6 separate regions of the Homo sapiens genome follow, and all the other regions are linked to region 2. The links are contacts of gene promoters, found by promoter capture Hi-C in blood cells and fetal thymus (Javierre and others, 2016). All regions are on one chromosome and are shown on one strand. The core of a region is centred on a gene start or on the middle of the fragment in contact, and the rest is flanking DNA. Distances in the headings are between cores, read along the strand shown. Region 1 overlaps B3GAT2 (beta-1,3-glucuronyltransferase 2). Region 2 holds the start of COL9A1 (collagen type IX alpha 1 chain). Region 3 has its middle 38 kb from the start of B3GAT2. Region 4 has its middle 6.8 kb from the start of B3GAT2. Region 5 has its middle 83 kb from the start of B3GAT2. Region 6 overlaps B3GAT2 (beta-1,3-glucuronyltransferase 2).

Region 1 (2,741 bases), core at 201-2,700, 630 kb before region 2:
TTAGTCCATTTACATTTAAAGTTAATATTGTTATGTGTGAATTTGATCCTGTCATTATGATGTTAGCTGGTTATTTTGCTCGTTAGTTGATGCAGTTTCTTCCTAGCCTTGATGGTCTTTACGTTTTGGCATGATTTTGCAGTGGCTGGTACCGGTTGTGCCTTTCCATGTTTAGTGCTTCCTTCAGGAGCTCTTGTAAGGCAGGCCTGGTGGTGACAAATTCTCTCAGCATTTGCTTGTCTGTAGAGTATTTTATTTCTCCTTCACTTACATTTTAAAAATCATTTTAAACTGTTGCAAAACTTTTGATTTCCAGTGCATTATAAATGTTGACATTTGTAATGAAATTTAAATATATCCAGTAGATCTATAAATATTGTTAACAGTTTGATACCCACCACCATTCATTTAATAAACATACTTTTCAATGACATTTGGATGGAGATATATATATACACATATATATATTTTTAAGTGAGACAGGGTCTCTCTCTGTTGCCCAGACTGGAGTGTAGTGGTGCGATCACAGCTTACTGCAGCCTCCACCTCCCTGGGTCAAGCAATTCTCCTGCCTCACCCTCCTGAGTAGCTGGGACTACAGGCACATGCCACCATACCTGGCTAATTTTTATTTTTATTTTTTTTTGGTAGAGACAGGGTCCTCCTATGTTTCCCTGGCTGGTCTCAAGCTCCTGGCTTCAAGCAGTCCTACCGCCTCATCTTTCCAAAGTACTGGTATTACTGGTGTGAGCCACCACACCTGGCCACGTTTGGATATTTTATATTGCTCTTTTTTTTTTCTATCTTCATTCCTCCTCAGAATTTTATCTTAGCATAATATTTTGAGGTTCAAAGTCATCTCCCTATTACACATATCTACAATGACAAAAAGAATATAGATAGAATTTAAAGTTTTATAATCCTGTGGCTATCAGCCTCTGTCTTAGAAAAGCTTCAGGACTGACTTACCATTACAATTAGTATTGGTAAACAATTAATCAAAACAACAATAAATGTTACAGGGTTGGGTAATTAACTATTAAACATAAAAGCTACATTTATTAGATTTCTTAGTGACATGGATGGAGCATTTTGTTGTTGATTATATATTCTGTATTGACAAATATTACAGATTGCTAGAGATAGAATTTAGTATAAATTTCATTCCTATTAGGTCAACTTTTTTTTACGTAAAGAAGTAATTAAGGTGGGAATCATTTTCTTACAGCAGTGTTTCTCAGTTTTTTGAACTCTCAAGCTTTAAGCCAAAAATTACATGGTGATCTGACAGCAAAAACTATTTTAATGATTTATTAATGATATTAGGTCACCTCCAGTTTTGTTGAATGCAAATAGTTAGAAACCTCTGGTTGCCCCAAAGGATTTATTACCCATTCATTAGAGACATTGGCTTTCTTAATAAAGATAGCAATATTTCTGATTACCTTTGTTTGGTGCCCTGGAGGTTATATTAGGTGGGACAGTGCATTTAATAACAATACAGGATGGGTGAGCAGTCAGGCCCTTTGTGAAGTGGGAGAAGGGTGATGTGAAGTGGGGTGGGGCGGGGGTGGGGGGCAGAGCGAGAGAGAAGCATGGAGAACCTGCCCCTATCCAAGTGGATCAGTTTTAGGAAAGCTTATGCCGTATGTAGGGATGCCAAGGGTCTGGGAATTTATTCCCTAACTTAAAGTTATCTGCATTCACATATTCCATGGAGAGTTGTATGCATTCAGGTATCATGCACTCCCAGTCTGAAAAACTGCTCTTTTGGTTGAAAGAGTATAAGGACTTGGAAGATGGGGCCTCTAGGCCTGACTGAGCCAAAGGCTCCCATGACCTCAAGGGAACTGACTAGTGCTTTTTTCATTTTTTACTGCGTTCTGGGTCCCACCCTTGGCATTCAGATGTGTGCATGAGCTGCTGTTTAATTTTCATCATCTGCTTTACAAATGAGGAAAAGCCCTGATATCCAGCTCCCTCATAGGACCTGATAATAATACATATGGTTCTGAGAATTAAACGAGGTAATAGGTACGTAAAGTGGGTAAACAGAGTAACTTCACTCTCTATTTGTACGTCTCTCAGAAGTCTGGGGCAACAGGAGCTGTGGAAGGCTCCAGAAGACAAGATGTCACAAAGCCACCTAGCTACTGTGGCTGTACCAATCCTGACAGTCATAGCGGCCCCAAGGTGCTGCTCTGTTGGCTGATGGGAATGCAGATTTACGTATGGTCCATATATGGACGTGTTGTTTTACATCTAAATAAACTTGGCATTGCAAGATGAAAATGCCAGTATCATTTTTAAAGGTCAAGTGACAGTTTGGGAAGATTTTTATAACTTTGATAAGTTCCTCAGCTACATCTGTTCACACTGGCAAGAGTGCTAGAGACATTCTTGGGAAGTCTTTTCTATCAGAGGAGCTGCAGCCTTGCTCTGCAGAAAAGTTCTGATGACAGTCATCAGAGTATTTGGGGCTCATGCACTAACTGTTAATTATTTTCATTTTTCATTAATGAAAATTTATTTTAATTTTTTTCATTCTTCTTTAATGAATTTAACTATTTGCCTCTACCTTTGCTTCCTGCTTTGTATACTGATAAGACAGGTTTTGGGGTTTTTATGTTTTCTGGTCTTGCTTTTCCCCTTTGTTTTAGGATTTAAAAAACAAAAAGGTTAAGAGGGTAGGTTGACAGTGCTTGCAGTTTCTGTTTTACAGCAATCCCAGCTGTTCCTCT
Region 2 (3,088 bases), core at 543-3,042:
TCCCCAGCTGCAGTTTCTCCTCTGAGGTTAATAGACCGCTTCTTTCTCATGAGCCCTGACTGACTTAAACAAATAAGCTAAGATCTGGTCATTTGTAGTTCTGTCACAGAGCCAGGATGGCTGCACTAGGGAATGGGAATTTTGATAGACAGAAGGCAAATGACAGGGACTTGTAGAAAGCCCCAAACAGCATGAGGAAATGGGTGTCCCTCTGGGAAAGAGAGACAGGACTCCAACAGGTGGGCTATGAGTAGAAAATAAAAGGGCAAAAGCATGGATATTAAGTTTGCCTGATTTACATTTCATCAGTGAGCTGGGGGAGGCAGAAACTGAAAGGACTTTTTTGGAAAAGAAATAAACAAATGAAAAATAAGAAGCAACGCTATTGTTTTGTAATTAAATAAAAATTAAATCAATTAGAAAACGAAATTTAAAAATTTCAAGAAGCCAGGTGCAGTGGTGCATGACTATCATCCCAGTTACTCAGGAGGCTGAGGTGGGAGAATCCCCTGAGCCCAGAAGTTCAAGGCTGTAGTGAGCTATGATTATGCCACTGTACTCCAGCTTGGGGGACAGAGCGAGACCTGAGACCCTGTCTCTTAAAAAAAAAAAGTTCACCTAAAAATTACTTTGCTTGTACTGTGATTTTTGAGATCATTGGATCTTCTGACCTTTAGAGTCTTGGTTTTTGGAGTAACCACCCGTGTCCCTCAAGACAAGGCCAGAGGTTGGCCATGCTGAGTGGGTGGTAACGGGGGTGATGTGGGGGCTATAGGGAATTCTCTTTAGGTGCTCAGGTTCTGGAGAGACGGCATGGCATGTGTGGTAGCGATGCTGATAACATGCCTCTCTCTAGGTTTGTGCTCCTTGTAATTTGCTCTCACCTTGTTAACGGAGGATAATATGTTGCTTCTTTCCAGATACAGTGTCCTCTGCTCAACTCTGGTAGTCTCAGAGTTTAAGAATAAACAACAAGTAGGGGGCTTGATGTTACATTTTATCAGGATTTCTATCCATGAGGTAGAGAGAGGGAATGTGTATTTAGTAATAGGCATGGCACTTTGAAAAAGTTACTTCATTTTCTGCTTCCTCAACTTTCTTATTTGGAGAATAAGGGTAACTTCAGTCTTACCTTATAATGTTGTTGTGAGAATTAAATGGCATTAAGCTTTGAGCATTTTCAACAGACGGAGGTGCATAATGAAGCGTTAGCTATGAAGACGATGACAAATAATGATTGTTGGGTGTTAGACCCTCTGCCTTTGATACCTCATTTAATTCTCAAAACCATTGTTTTAATGTAAGCATTTTCAATCTGTTTTACAGTTAGGGCATCTAGTTACAGAAAGGTGAAGTAACTCTCTCAAGGACACACAGCTAGTAAGCTTCAGAATAAACAGGGATTGAAACTTAGGTTGATCGGGCACCAAGGCTCCCACGAGTTTCCACACCTCTGCCTCCCAGTGGGCACATTTTTACTGGAACCTCAGCCCTCTGAAAGCTTCCACTGTATTCCTATAGCAGTTCTGAAAGCTGCCATTGTACTCCTATAGCAGATCTAAAAGCATCTACTGTGTTCCTATAGCACCTTGCCTGGATCTTTCTGGTGAATTTCCCCACATCCTGATTTTATTTTTTTCTTTTCAGCAAACTTTCCCCTGTAAATCCCTCCTTCAGTATAACCTTGTTAGCTTTGAGGACACACCCCTAGGCCTGGGCTCAGAGCGCTGCTTCTCCCCACCCCTTTCCTTTGCTTCAGTTTAAAGTGTCACGAGATGCCTCTGGTTCTCTCCCTTTGCTTTTAGCCCTCACCGGGGGCAGGAGGGACCAAGGCTGGGCCCAGAACACATAGTCCTAGGGTAACAGTGAAGGGGTCGTGAGGGGACAGTGACTCCCTTCCAACCCCTTCTTCATAGGGACTGTTGGCAAACAAAGAAAATCAACTGGGAAAATGAAGACCTGCTGGTAAGACAATAACCCTGGAAAGAGTGGTGGGGAGATGGAGCTGGGGGTCCTCAGAACCAAGGGTCTGTATTTTTGCAGCAGTGGTAAGATGAGAGTAGGTGAGCCTCAAGGTGAGAGACAGAAAGAGAGACGGATGAGAGAGTAAGACAAGAGGGCAAGCGTGAGAAACCGAAGACAGACACAAAAAACCGAAGACAGACAGAGGAAGGGAGAGAAAGTGACGGCCACAGAAAAAGAGAGGAAGGAAATCAAAGGTGAAAGAAACCAGAGACAAAGAAATAGGTACCAAAACAGTGAGATAGGTAGATACCGAGAAGGTGAGATCAATAAAACAACAACGACAGTGGGGTCTGGAAACATGAGTTCCTTACATCTCTCAGTAGGGTTTCAAAGTAAAAATGAAGGCTGGGTGCGGTGGCTTATGCTTGTAATCCCAGCACTTTGGGAGGCCGAGGCGGGCGAATCACGAGGTCAGGAGTTCAAGACCAGACTGACCACCATGGTGAAACCCTGTCTCCACTAAAAATAGAAAAAGTAACTGGGTGTGGTGGCACGTGCCTGTAATCCCAGTTACTCAGGAGGCTGAGGCAGGAGAATCGTTTGAACCCAGGAGGTGGAGGTTGCAAAGAGCCGAGATCGCGCCATTGCACTCCAGCCTGGGTGACAGAGCGAGACTCCGTCTCAAAAAAAAAAAAAAAAAAAAAAAGAAATGAAAAAAAAACTATACTGTGATTTGATCACCTTACATTAATTAGGTTTACTAGGTTTGAAAATATGGAAGTGTTTTCCATCTGCGGGGACTCCTGTTTCAGTCATTTTTCTTCTCTCTTCTTCAGGAAAATTCCAGTTTTCTTCTTTGTGTGCAGTTTCCTGGAACCCTGGGCATCTGCAGCTGTCAAGCGTCGCCCCAGTAAGGGCCATAGTTTCTAGACTTTCAAAGATCACTTATTCCCAGAAATGATCAGGCAGGGCTGTGGCTGACTGAAGACTGAGTGAGGCATTCATAGTCCTTCACACCCTCACTCTTCAATCCAGCTTTGGGGCACAGGGATACATTAGGTTCTGGTTTTCCATGGTCAATGCTGGGTATGGAAAGTAAGTCCTGTCAGTAATCACAGTTGGT
Region 3 (2,747 bases), core at 171-2,670, 690 kb before region 2:
TTTGGAAAACAGTTAATCAGGTTGGATTGCTAGGCAGCCTTGAATGTGCCTTTGATTTAATCACAAACACATGCTGCTGCATTCATCAATGTTCCCTTTATGTAAGCTTCTTCATTATTGTGATGCTTTACCTTTGGCCATAGCATGCCTGTTTGCTGATTTCCATGTCAGAGAAAAATGTTACATAACCGAAGTACTCACAGGAATGAGCACCAAAACTAAGGAGTAGAGTCAATGTAAAGATGTAACTTAGCAGAAAAGTTCAACTATTCCAAATCTATGAAATCTGTATTAGAAAATGTTATATGTCAAGAGATAGTAACAATGCCTGCATTCCACCAGGCCATACTTCTCTGGTTAAAGCAATACAATGGTTGAAGAAGTACAATGACAATATAAAAAGAAATTTCAAGGATGGGCTCAAAAAATGGAGCAAAGAACACTACAGGTATTGCATGAAGACACTAAAGGTAAGAAAACTATGGCAATATTATTTTATTATGGCCTTTATTTTTTTTAATTAAAGACTATTCTATTTTTTGTAAGTGAATTTAACAACAATGACTTTGTAGAATATCTGTGTATGAACTAGGAAGACTCACATAATTATTGGTTCTTCATGTCTCTCAGCTACTTCCAGCTGGAAATGTGAAAATGTGAAAGTTGTGTTGGCATTCATCAATGCAGCCAGTTCAGGAAATTCCTGGCACTTGTCCCTGTTTTTCTTGACACTTTTCTGGGTGTCACTTTCTATGTTTAAAATGGAGAGTTTGGACATCTAAAGCTATTTCCAACTCACCATTTGCAAATTTTGTAGCATTTTATATTTAACTCACTTATTATCTCTTATGAGCCCCATATTAAACTTTTGAGATAGGTCAGGAAGATATTCTTATCTTCATTTAACCCACGAAGAAACTGCTCTCCAGAAGCCACTGCCAAGCAAGTCATTCTAAGTTTCACTGCTAAAAACTAGACTGCTAGACAACCTACTACTTTGAAGAAGGCGTTTTTAAAAGTGCTATTTTTATTCAATGTGACATGCAGTATTATTGAAATGCAGATAAATTTTCAGTCAAACACTAAGATAAAGTAGCTTCTCTGTGACCAAGGATTTAACTTGATTAACTGGCAATTTCGAGTGTTTAAGGGTAGAAATTAGCAGCTTGACTGTGTAGGGCAATGGTTTAATATAAAAAAGGGAGCATTCAGAGAGAACACAAGAAGGTGTGTCTCTGGGAATGAAAGTACTTTATAACATCAGTGGACAGCCTAGAGCTATGTGAGTTTCTTCTTTCTCATTCAAATTCTTTCTTAGCAACCCTTCTCAAAAATAAAATAGAGTGGGGTGCAGTGGGTGGCACATGCTTGTTGTCCCAGCTACTCAGGAGGCTGAGGGAGGAGGATCCTTTGAGCCCAGGAATTTGAGGCCAGCTTGAGCAACATAAAGAATACAGTTCTTCATCCACGACTCTGTAGGGCCAGCCTCTAGAAATACTGCCACCAGTCTACCTATGACCTTGGAATTTCAGGGTCCAGAAACACAGAGATCCACCCTCAACTTTCCATTAGGGAAACAAGAAAAAGCTGGCCAGCTCCTGACACCACTGCCACTACCTGTAGTAATTAAAAACACATTTAAAAAATTTGTATACTTTTCCCTTCAAGCAGTAGAGCTTAATTCCCCTCTCCTTGAGAGTTCACTGGACTTAATGACTCTCTTACATAGAAATACAGCAGCCACAGGAAAAAATGAAATAAAATTCTGACACAGTTTGATCTCTCACTTTTATGCCAAAGCAGAAAGATTCATTTATTTCTTATTTATACTATTATAACATCATCCCCAATTTTTCAACTGTAATGTGATTTCAAAAATGAAGGCTGACTAGCTATGACAAGCCCACATTACAGTGACTCTGGCCCTTGAGTCTTCTGTGGCATCATAAATGTGAACTCAAAGTTATCTTCAAGGTAAAACCAGCTTAATTGTCCCATAGAACTGATGTTTATGGTTTATCTGAATAAACATAAAAATTGATCCTCCCAGTCTTAAAACTTGAGAAAGGTACAATTGTCTTATCTGAATTCCTTTCTCAGAAAACCAACCATCAGGCTTTCCAGATAATATCAAGGAACTGAAACACACCAGATCACTGCATCTGAACAATGTCATGCCAGACAGGTGGCAGACCCCTCACCCACCTGCCTCCTGTTGACCAACTTCTCTTCTTAGCCGCCTCTAATTCCTGTTTTCCCATACATGGTTACATTTCTTCCCTGCTAGATAAACCCCAATTTTAGTCATTCAGGAAGATGGATTTGAGACTGATCTCCATTTCCTCAGCTGCAGCACCTTACTAAAGCCTTCTTCCCTGGCAATACTTGTTAACTCAGTGATTGGCTTTCTATGTGTGAGCACCCCTAGACCGAACCCCTGGTGTTTTGGTAACAAAGGTAAGCTATAGGTGTAATAGGAGGCATAAGATTGATTTTTTTCTCCACAAACCAGAATGTATGTATGCAATTGAATTTTAGACCCTTCAAAGTAGGCATCATGGAGAGGATAGATCGTGCTGCTGAAGCTCAAAATATTTTTGGAAATGCCTTTAGAAAAAATTTGAAAGGCACAAAAGTTTGTCTCATTGTGGTCAGACAGTGCATATATACTTGTGTGTGCATGTGTGTGACTAAAAAAGATTTTTAGTGACTAAAAAAAATTGCCCAAGCTTGATTATTAACTATAT
Region 4 (3,083 bases), core at 123-2,622, 660 kb before region 2:
GATCATGGCGGCAGTTTCCCCATGCTGTTCTCATGATAGTGAGTGAATTCTCACAAGATCTGATGGTTTTATAAGGCACTTTCCCTGCTTCACTCTGCACTTCTCTCTCCTGCAACCATGTGAAGAAGAACATGTTTGCTTCCTGTTCTGTCATGATTGTTAAGTTTCCTGAGGCCTCCCCGGCCATGCATAAATGTGAGTCAATTAAACCTCTCTCCTTTATAAATTACCAGGTCTCATGTATTTCTTCATAGCAGCATGAGAATGCACTAATAGATTATTGTTCTAAGGATTTTACATGTATCAACTCATTTAATTACAACAACTTTAAATGCCGAAGTCACTTATGTTTAGAGATCTATTATCTATTCAACTCTTTCACATTTGTGGAAGACAGTTATAGTGGCAAGAATGTTGGCTTTGGAATAAAAAAATAGGATTGGATTCAAATTCTGTCTCTGACATTTAACTGGCTGTGTGACCTTAGAAAAGTTTCTTACTCTACCTACTTTTCAGGGTTATTGTATTTTAAAGTATGTTCAGTGCATTGAACAGACCCTGGTTCATGATCATTCATATACAGTGTCTCTTAGTTATAGGAGCATTATATTTATTTGACAGGTGAGGAAACAAGTTTAGATAGGTAACCAGTGAGTGGATACCTAGGATATGGACTCAGGTCTCCTGATTCCAATGCAACTCTTTTTCCCAGGTACCATGTTGCCACTCTCTTGACAAGACTGACCTGGATCTCAAGTAACTTCTAAAGACTGTAATAACTATGTCAGGTGGACAGCGTTTGCACACTTAGGTTTCTATGTTTTATTACCACCACTTTCTAAGTAATCAAGGCCTACCAGACCATATAGAGTGACACCCTGAGGCCTAGCTGCTGGACGTTATATTAGAATATGAATTTCATCTGGAATTTGAGGGCTTTTGTTTTTGGTTAGCTATAATGTGACTGTTAGAAATCATACTATAGTTTGGGAATGATGATTTTGCTAGCTTAATTGCATTTTATTTGAGTAGAATTCCAAGCACTTTTCTTTAAAAATAATGGACTCAATTTTTCAGACCTCGTGCTATTTCTGCTTCAGAACCAAACTTTCTTAATGGGCTCCTTTTCTGGGCATCCCTTAACCCAGTCAAGCTGACACATAAAATTAAGCATCCCACCCTTCTCTTTGTGTGGTTAAATTCCTAGGCTGGGGCTATAAATTGATAGAGGAATAAAGGAACAACCCCCCTTTTAACTTTAAGAGATTTATATTTCACATAGAACACCAAATATGTGCCTAAGCCAAGTCATACTTAACTTGGCACTCAAGAAGCAGAAATTAATAAATGTAGTCATTTCAATGGTCCACCTGCAGGCTCATAAATGCACCTGTTATAAAAATAATAAAAAAATTAATTCAAGCCACTGAACTACCACATTTAGACAAAAATGGAACTTAAAACATTGACAATGTTCCATTATTTTAATTATTATATTTTGGAGGTAGGTTGCTCATATAACATGTGTTTACCTACAGGAACTAGATTTACTTTTGAGAGAGTGGACAGGAGATACTTTCTTGTTTATGAAGATACACAAACCTTCTTTAATTATGTCTGCAGCTACTAGATAATATGCAACTGGTTATAAGATTTGGTAACACAATATGATATTAATAGTGTAATGCAAACCCATCAACAGAACTGGAAAAATATTCAAAGTACATTTCCTATGGAGTTTACCAAGAAACCACCTACACTCATTCATTCTACATACAAGAAAACTGAAGACCAGAGATCTGAGACTTGTCCAAGAGCTAGTCAGTAACTGGAACTTTCTATGGCCTTTATCTTATACCCACTCCCCATATTCATATTGTTTGCTCCCAATATTTGTACTCAACATATCCAAGAAAAGGCATCCAACTAAACCAACAGCCATTTGGAAAGAACATCTTTATTTAAGTAAACATAGATGGTTTGGATGCAGACCCTGCTTTCGCTAAAGTTTATTTTTAAAATTTGTACCCTCACCAATCTTCATACAGAAAAACTGTCTTGAGACAGGGTCTCTGTCACCCAGGCTGGAGTGCAGTGATGCCATCATATTTCACATATTTCATTATAGCCTCAAACTCCTGGGCTCAAGCGATCCTCCTGTCTCAGCCCCCCAAATAGCTGGGACTACAGCCATGCCCCAACACACCCAGCTAGTTTTGTTTTGTTTTGTTTTGTTTTGTTTTGTTTTGTAGATAGAGGGTCTTCCTATTTACCTAGGCTGGTGTCAAACTCCTGGCCTCAATTACAGGTGTGAGCCACTATACCCTGCCCAGGGGTTGTATCCTTGATCAAGATGTATCCTTGAGTGAATTACAGATAGATGTGATGAAAAGCTACATTAATTTTTAAATTTCATCTAAAATAGTAAAATGGCTTCATGATAAAATGACTGTAAATGCTTCTACTATCTTCTTGTGGAGGAAAGGCATGGTGACAGCAGTTTCTGATCTGGCTGCAGAGATGCCTGAGCCCACGGCCACCAATATGGCTTACGGTGGCCAGTACCAATCTGTTGGGGGTGACACATCTGGGCAAAACCCCAACTGGCACTACACTGGCCTTAAAAGCCATAGAGTGGGGTTAGATGATTCAACTAGTATTTACTGGGAAAGGAGGTTTTCCCGTGGCAGAAAGTTATGTCAGTTACGGAAGACAGTATTCACTTAGTAAGCCTTCTCTTTAGTCTCCTCCGTCAAGCCTGTTGCCTGCTTAGGCCTCTCGAGTACTGCTTAGGCCTCTCGAGTACCGTCAATCATACCATAGAGTCTGGATTTGAAATCCCACCCATCAATGTTTCACTTTGAAGCTTTGAGGAAGCTGATGAGTTCTGTACTCAGTGTTCTTCACCTATTCCTTTGTTCCCATGCATGCGTGTGCACACAAACACCTGTTGGTTTCATCCTATCATTATGCACAAGTTCCTATCAGATTATAATTGCACTACCACCATCACTTCCTATCTGTATTAGTTTGCTACAGCTGCTGTAACAAAGTTCCACAAACTGGGTGGCTTAAACAGCAAA
Region 5 (2,700 bases), core at 58-2,557, 740 kb before region 2:
CTGCATGCCCAGTGCTTTCCTTACCCTCTGGAATTGAGCACACGCCATGTGTTTAGGGAGCTATACGCATCACCATCTGAAGCTTTCTTCCCTTTTTCAGTGGAGTGTGCCCCCAGAAGATTATACTTCACCATTTTTGTCTCTTAACAGGATGCCCAGGAAGTTGCTTCTCCCTGGGACTGCATTCAATTAATGTTTTGATGTTGATAGGCGTGGACCATCAGGAAATGGCCTCTCCCTTGTGCTGCTGAATTATTATTTTTAGAGAGGCAAAGCAATAATTGCCCAACCATCACCCAACATTTCTAGTGGGTGAGGGAGAGAGCCCTCTCCTGCCCCACTCATGCCTAACTACCTATAACGCTACCTTCTCTAGATGGGGTTAAGTCTTGGACCTTAATTAATTACATCCCAGAAAGTGGCAACACCTGCAGGTGAAGTCCTTGATTCACTCCCTGGCTGGACGCCTGAATATAGGCAAATATTGATTTAATTTTTGTCAAAACTGGAAATCCTATAAACTGCAGACATTTATCCTATAAACTGTAGACATTTGTCCTATAAACTGTAAATAGATGATTTGGGAAGGCTTAGGAAAGGAAGTCCAAATGGCTAGGAAGTAGTACGGAGTCATAATAAGAACAAGTGTAAACTGGCTGGCCATATGTCCTGTGCAAATTGGGTTACTAGACTGATAAGGAAAGAATATATAGAACAAATCTTGTATCTGTGTAATTACAAGGGTCCCCAGAGACAGGACGGATGAATCTAAGTGTGGGGTAAAGAGCAAAGAGAAATAGGAACTAAGAAAGTCAGGGACAAGAGGGACACTAGTGAGGAGAGCCAAGACCACCTGGTGACCATCAAACAGATCATCTGGAGGCAAAACTCCTTATCTGGGAATTTAGAAGGGAACAAAGACCACCTGGTGACCATCAAACAGACCATCCAGAGGCAAAACTCCTTATCTGGGAATTTAGAAGCAATCAAATTTCCCTAGTTTCTAAAGTCAGCATGTGGTTCCAGGCCTCTTTCAACTTTTAGTTTAAAAGTAACTAAAATTTCTATACATCTCTGGAATGTCACGCTGAAACTCATTTTACAACCCTAAGCTCCTGCCTTAAGGTCCATAAATACCACTAAGGAAAAATCCACTGCGGTGCATTCAGTCCTCTTGCCAAAGCGCTCTACTGCACCCTCTTGCAGCATTCTTCCTTTCTAATAACTTTCCTTTTCAAACCTATTCTGTTGTCGGTAAATTCTTTTTACCAACCTGCGCGTCAACCACTTCCCAATACCAGGGCTCTGACACCTCTCCCGGCAACTAGTACAAGTGGAAGTGGCAGGGAAGACAAGAGAAACCTTAGCCCTGGAGGAAAGGAGGATAAGAACAACTCCCTTTGTGAAGAAGAGACCATGTGAACCCAGGAGGGTGCCCCACTCTCCCAGCTCAGAGGAGATGCTGCAGGAGTCTTACAGAATGGGGATGTCAGTACCAGTGCCCTGGCCTTGGGGCACACAGGGATCAGGATGCCAACCACACTGCAGGGAGAGAAGCAGCACAGGCAGAGACTGCAGGAGCCACCACAGCCCAAGGAGCTATGCAGCTGCTGAGCCAAGCTGCAGACAATGGAGCAATCAGCGCTGGTGCATGAAGCTCAAATTGGGTGCCCTTCAGCTTAAGAAAACAGAGTGCCTTTTCTTCTGTCAATGTTGTGAAGACCCACAGACTCATTTTTACTCCCTTAGATTTGTGGACAAACCTGTTAACTTGACTATTAGCTATTAACTTAGCTATTCAGCAGCGTGGGCTACAGGTTTCTGGAGTCCTTCTGACTGGGACTGAATCCCTGCTCCTCTGCTTATTAGTTCTGATGTGCACAAGTTTTATTCATCCATAAGATGGAGATAGTCAAACTGCCTTCCTAATAGGGGTGTTCAGAAGATTAATTGAGAATTATCCATGTAAAGTGATTAATAAATATTAGTTGTTATTAATACATTGGCTTAAGCCAGTGGTGCCTAGGGAAACCTTAACCAAGTCTCTCATGACATATTTGTGGACAAGATGGAGAAATGAGGAATAGGCATAAACACAATTTTGTGACTTGTAACTGGTTAAGTACCAAAGCAACAGAATGAAAATTAATGAGAGAATATCAGTCTGGAGAATTCCTGTGAATTACAAAAGACCTCCTGAGAGTCTTCAAATCGTTTCCCTACTGCAGGTCCTTGCTTTAATTCTAAGACAAAAAACTGACAAGCAATTCCACAGACCTTCATTTTTATATACTCCTAAAATTACTTAACAGTAACTTGCTAAATCAGTTATTGAAGATTCCTAAAATTTAATATTTACAATCTAACTAAAATTAGCCCATTACTAAAATTACCGAGGTAGCTATACAGCTCAACTTTCTCCAGGAAGCCCAGGAGCTAGATACTACTGAGCTATACTGCAGCACTCCTACCACCTGGGCACACATGCGACATCCAGAAACTGCATTGTTATCATTACATCATCAAGCTTAACATGAGCTGGTCAGAGTTTTTAAGTGCTGCTGTGCGTTACATTAACTTGTATATCACATTACATGTTAACCAATACTCCTCCATCCTCAATCACTTAATGAATATGCTCTTTATTTCCTGGCACTCAGAAGTGCCTGGATTTTTCCCAAGGAAGTAATCACCCTGCCC
Region 6 (2,907 bases), core at 41-2,540, 600 kb before region 2:
CAAGGTTTGGGCATTAATATGAAGAATCTTGTATATTGTTGAAACTTCTGGTCCAACAGAATGGAAAGTGTGCCAAATAGGAAGCTTTTGGGTACAGGTGACAAAAACCCCAACTCAAACTGGCTTCAACGCTAAGCACATATATTATCTCACTATATTAGCAGAATAACTAAATATTGGCAGCTGCAGAGGCAAACCCTGACTACTGAGAGGCTTGATACAGTAAAAGCTTATTGCTTGGTCTCACAAAGTTTGCCAGGGGTTGGTGACTCTCCTGGGCAGTTAGTGACTCAGATATGTCGCTTTATAAGCAACACATGACTTGTAAAGTCACCCCTGCAAGGGAAGAGGACTGGTGGATCACATAGATTGTTTTTAAGGACCAGGCTGGAAATTGACTTATATGAATTTTGCCCATGCTCCAGTGTGCATAAATCCGTCATCAGTCATATGACCCCATCCTAACTGCAAAGGATGCAGAAACATGGAGTCTTCCTGTGAACTTAGGAAGAGGAAAAGTGTTGAGCAAGAAGCCACATTCCATAACAGGAAGTCCAGATATACAGCAGGTTTTAGGGATGGATGACTTAGTGACTCAGTGGTGTCATCACCGTCCTGAAGTCTTTCCAATGCTCTCCACCCTGCCGTCCTCACAATGTCAGCTTTGTCTTCAGGCTGGTTCTCTTCCTGGTTGCAAGGTGGCTGCTGTAGTTCAGCCATCACAACCAGACATGGCAATGTGCTGGGACAGAAAGGGACCATCCTTAGGAGTGAGGGCACTTTTCCCAGAAGCAGCCCAGCACACTTCCTCTGATGGCCAGGACTGCCAGGCCCAAACTAATCACTGACAACTCAAGATTTATCCCTGGCATTGAGAGACCATCACCCTCTTGGCAGTCATGTGGGGGAAGGGCTGGTTACCATTTGAACCAAAATGAAGCTTAGCCAATAAGGAAGAGAAGAAAGTAGATGTTGAGTAGGCAACGAACAGTATCTGCTATAGCCCATCCCTGGACTCGCTGAGGTTTCATGGTAAAGTTTGTGGTTTTCATCATGTTCCTGCACCATTCTCAGTAAGTTGATGCCTAGCATTGCATATTTTCTTTTGCTATTGTAATGCTGTTTCCATGATAGTTGCTTGTGTATAGGATTGTCATTGATTTTTCACTCACCTTTGTTCAGTTTTCTTTTATCTATGTGTCTGTGTAATTGCCTTAAATTCTTTTTTCAAGCAGTATTAGATGTTAATTAGAGACTGAGAAACCCAGAGGTGGAAGGATCTTAAGTGGAGCAGGGGATCGGATTAAAGAATAAGAAAGCAAAGAATACTGTATTTCATTTCTGTGAAAAGAGAGGTTACATTTCCTTGCATGAGGAAAAAGTAGGAGTGTGTGCTTTTCTCAAAACTTGCTATAAGGCTGGGTGCAGTGGCTCATGCCTATAATCAGCACTTTAGGTGGCCAAGGCAGGAGGATTGCTTGAGCCCAGGAGTTTGAGACCAGCCTGGGAAATCTAGTAAAGCCCTGTATCTACAAAAAATAAAAAATTAGCTGAGAGTGGTGGTGCACGCCTGCAGTCCCCAGCTAGCTGGGAGGCTGAGGCAGGAGGATTGCTTGAGCCCAGGAGGAGGTCAAGCTTGCAGTGAGCTGTGATCATGCCACTGAACTCCAGTCTGGGTGACAGAGTGAGACTCTGTCTTAAAAAAAAATTGCTATGAGAGAATGCTCTAGGTATGTGTGTGGTCGTGGTAGAGTATAGGGGTGTACGATCACTGTAATGTGCTGGAATAGTACCTAATTTTGAAACTGCATGGTTAATAACATCTTTTAAGAATGTCTAAGTGCTTTAGAGACTTCTTTTCCCCCATTCTCCGTGAGAAGAATAGGAGATAGATCGTTGGTTTTCGTGTGGAAAAATTAAGAAAGAGAAATGAAGCAGTTTAAATTTCCTCACATTATCATGGTATTAAGTAAACTAGAGCAGAGGTCTTTGGGTTAGAACTCATTTGGGAAAATAGATTGAGTGTGGCCAAGGCAACCATTCCTGTAGTGAACTCAGCTCCCTTTTATGTAGTGAAGATAAATAGTTGAACAATCCAATACATGCCCCAGTCCCTCTCTCTCTACACACACTGCACACACACACACATACACACACACACACACACAGTGCCAGGAGACATTCCGGGACCATATTTTTTTAAGAAGAAAAAGTATTATTATGCTTTCAAGTCAGTTATGTTAATTTATTCCTTTTTTGAGATGTAGAGTAGCTCCTTTGTATCTGAGTTTGCCTATTACATGAAAAGACTAGTGGATAATGATACCAGCTATCCTATGTTACAAAAAGCTGCAGATCCCCATGCCAAGTGGACTATACAGCTACACAAACCTTCTGTTACCTGTTGGACACACTGCCACAGAGGCGAGCAACATGCTGTCTGCCATTAAAGAACTCGGGACCCTTGAAACCCATTTTGGGGAATATATGTAGCAAATAATCCAATTTTAAAAGGGGCAAAAACGTAGGTTATCGGAGTACATTAGACATGCTAATCTGCAGCAGTTTTGTGCAAACCTAAGTATAATTTAATTTTGTATTAAGTTTTCCTTTTGATATCCAGATAAAGATTAACATAGTCATTGGCAATTATATTTGTATTTTCAATAAACATCACATTTTACTGAAGTATACAGATCTATGCAAGGGATAGTGAAATAGACAAAGCTCATTTGACTTTTCCAGAAGGAATGCATTTTAACATTGGTGGCTCCTGTGGTTAGGGGGACTTCCAAAGCAGTAACTCTTGCGTTTCCTCAGCAGCATCATCATAATTACACCACTATACACAATAATTATACTCCTAGCTGTGGTTCTATTCTACAGCAGTTGCTGCTTTCCTGGAAA

The links. Contacts are between HindIII fragments. The CHiCAGO score rates a contact against its expected background, and 5 or more counts as called.
Region 1: a fragment that was not itself captured here is called in contact with the fragment with the promoter of COL9A1 in region 2 in 1 of 17 cell types (endothelial precursors); the score reaches 5.3 in endothelial precursors.
Region 3: a fragment that was not itself captured here is called in contact with the fragment with the promoter of COL9A1 in region 2 in 5 of 17 cell types (endothelial precursors, M2 macrophages, M1 macrophages and 2 more); the score reaches 9.6 in endothelial precursors.
Region 4: a contact is called between a fragment that was not itself captured here and the fragment with the promoter of COL9A1 in region 2, in 3 of 17 cell types (M2 macrophages, endothelial precursors and naive CD8 T cells). The highest score is 5.6, in M2 macrophages.
Region 5: a fragment that was not itself captured here is called in contact with the fragment with the promoter of COL9A1 in region 2 in 1 of 17 cell types (M2 macrophages); the score reaches 7.3 in M2 macrophages.
Region 6: a fragment that was not itself captured here is called in contact with the fragment with the promoter of COL9A1 in region 2 in 1 of 17 cell types (endothelial precursors); the score reaches 5.3 in endothelial precursors.

Annotation. Positions count from the first base shown.
Region 1 is chr6:70,933,189-70,935,929 of GRCh38, reverse strand. All of the region lies in intron 1 of B3GAT2 (beta-1,3-glucuronyltransferase 2), which reads left to right. Among named protein-coding and RNA genes, the nearest start is that of B3GAT2, 23 kb to the left of the region's middle. The HindIII fragment of the contact is 380 bases long and covers 1,261-1,640 here.
Region 2 is chr6:70,301,788-70,304,875 of GRCh38, reverse strand. It overlaps COL9A1 (collagen type IX alpha 1 chain), which reads left to right and starts at 1,792. Exons shown (of 38, transcript NM_001851.6): 1 at 1,792-1,965; 2 at 2,802-2,875. The coding sequence starts at 1,952. The HindIII fragment of the contact is 4,602 bases long and covers 1,504-3,088 here.
Region 3 is chr6:70,993,559-70,996,305 of GRCh38, reverse strand. No RefSeq gene overlaps it. Among named protein-coding and RNA genes, the nearest start is that of B3GAT2, 38 kb to the right of the region's middle. The HindIII fragment of the contact is 2,623 bases long and covers 109-2,731 here.
Region 4 is chr6:70,962,340-70,965,422 of GRCh38, reverse strand. No RefSeq gene overlaps it. Among named protein-coding and RNA genes, the nearest start is that of B3GAT2, 6.8 kb to the right of the region's middle. The HindIII fragment of the contact is 2,992 bases long and covers 1-2,868 here.
Region 5 is chr6:71,039,108-71,041,807 of GRCh38, reverse strand. No RefSeq gene overlaps it. Among named protein-coding and RNA genes, the nearest start is that of B3GAT2, 83 kb to the right of the region's middle. The HindIII fragment of the contact is 2,445 bases long and covers 85-2,529 here.
Region 6 is chr6:70,905,147-70,908,053 of GRCh38, reverse strand. All of the region lies in intron 1 of B3GAT2 (beta-1,3-glucuronyltransferase 2), which reads left to right. LOC105377850 (a long non-coding RNA gene) reads right to left here. Exons shown (of 5, transcript XR_001744196.2): 5 at 2,824-2,907. Among named protein-coding and RNA genes, the nearest start is that of B3GAT2, 50 kb to the left of the region's middle. The HindIII fragment of the contact is 695 bases long and covers 943-1,637 here.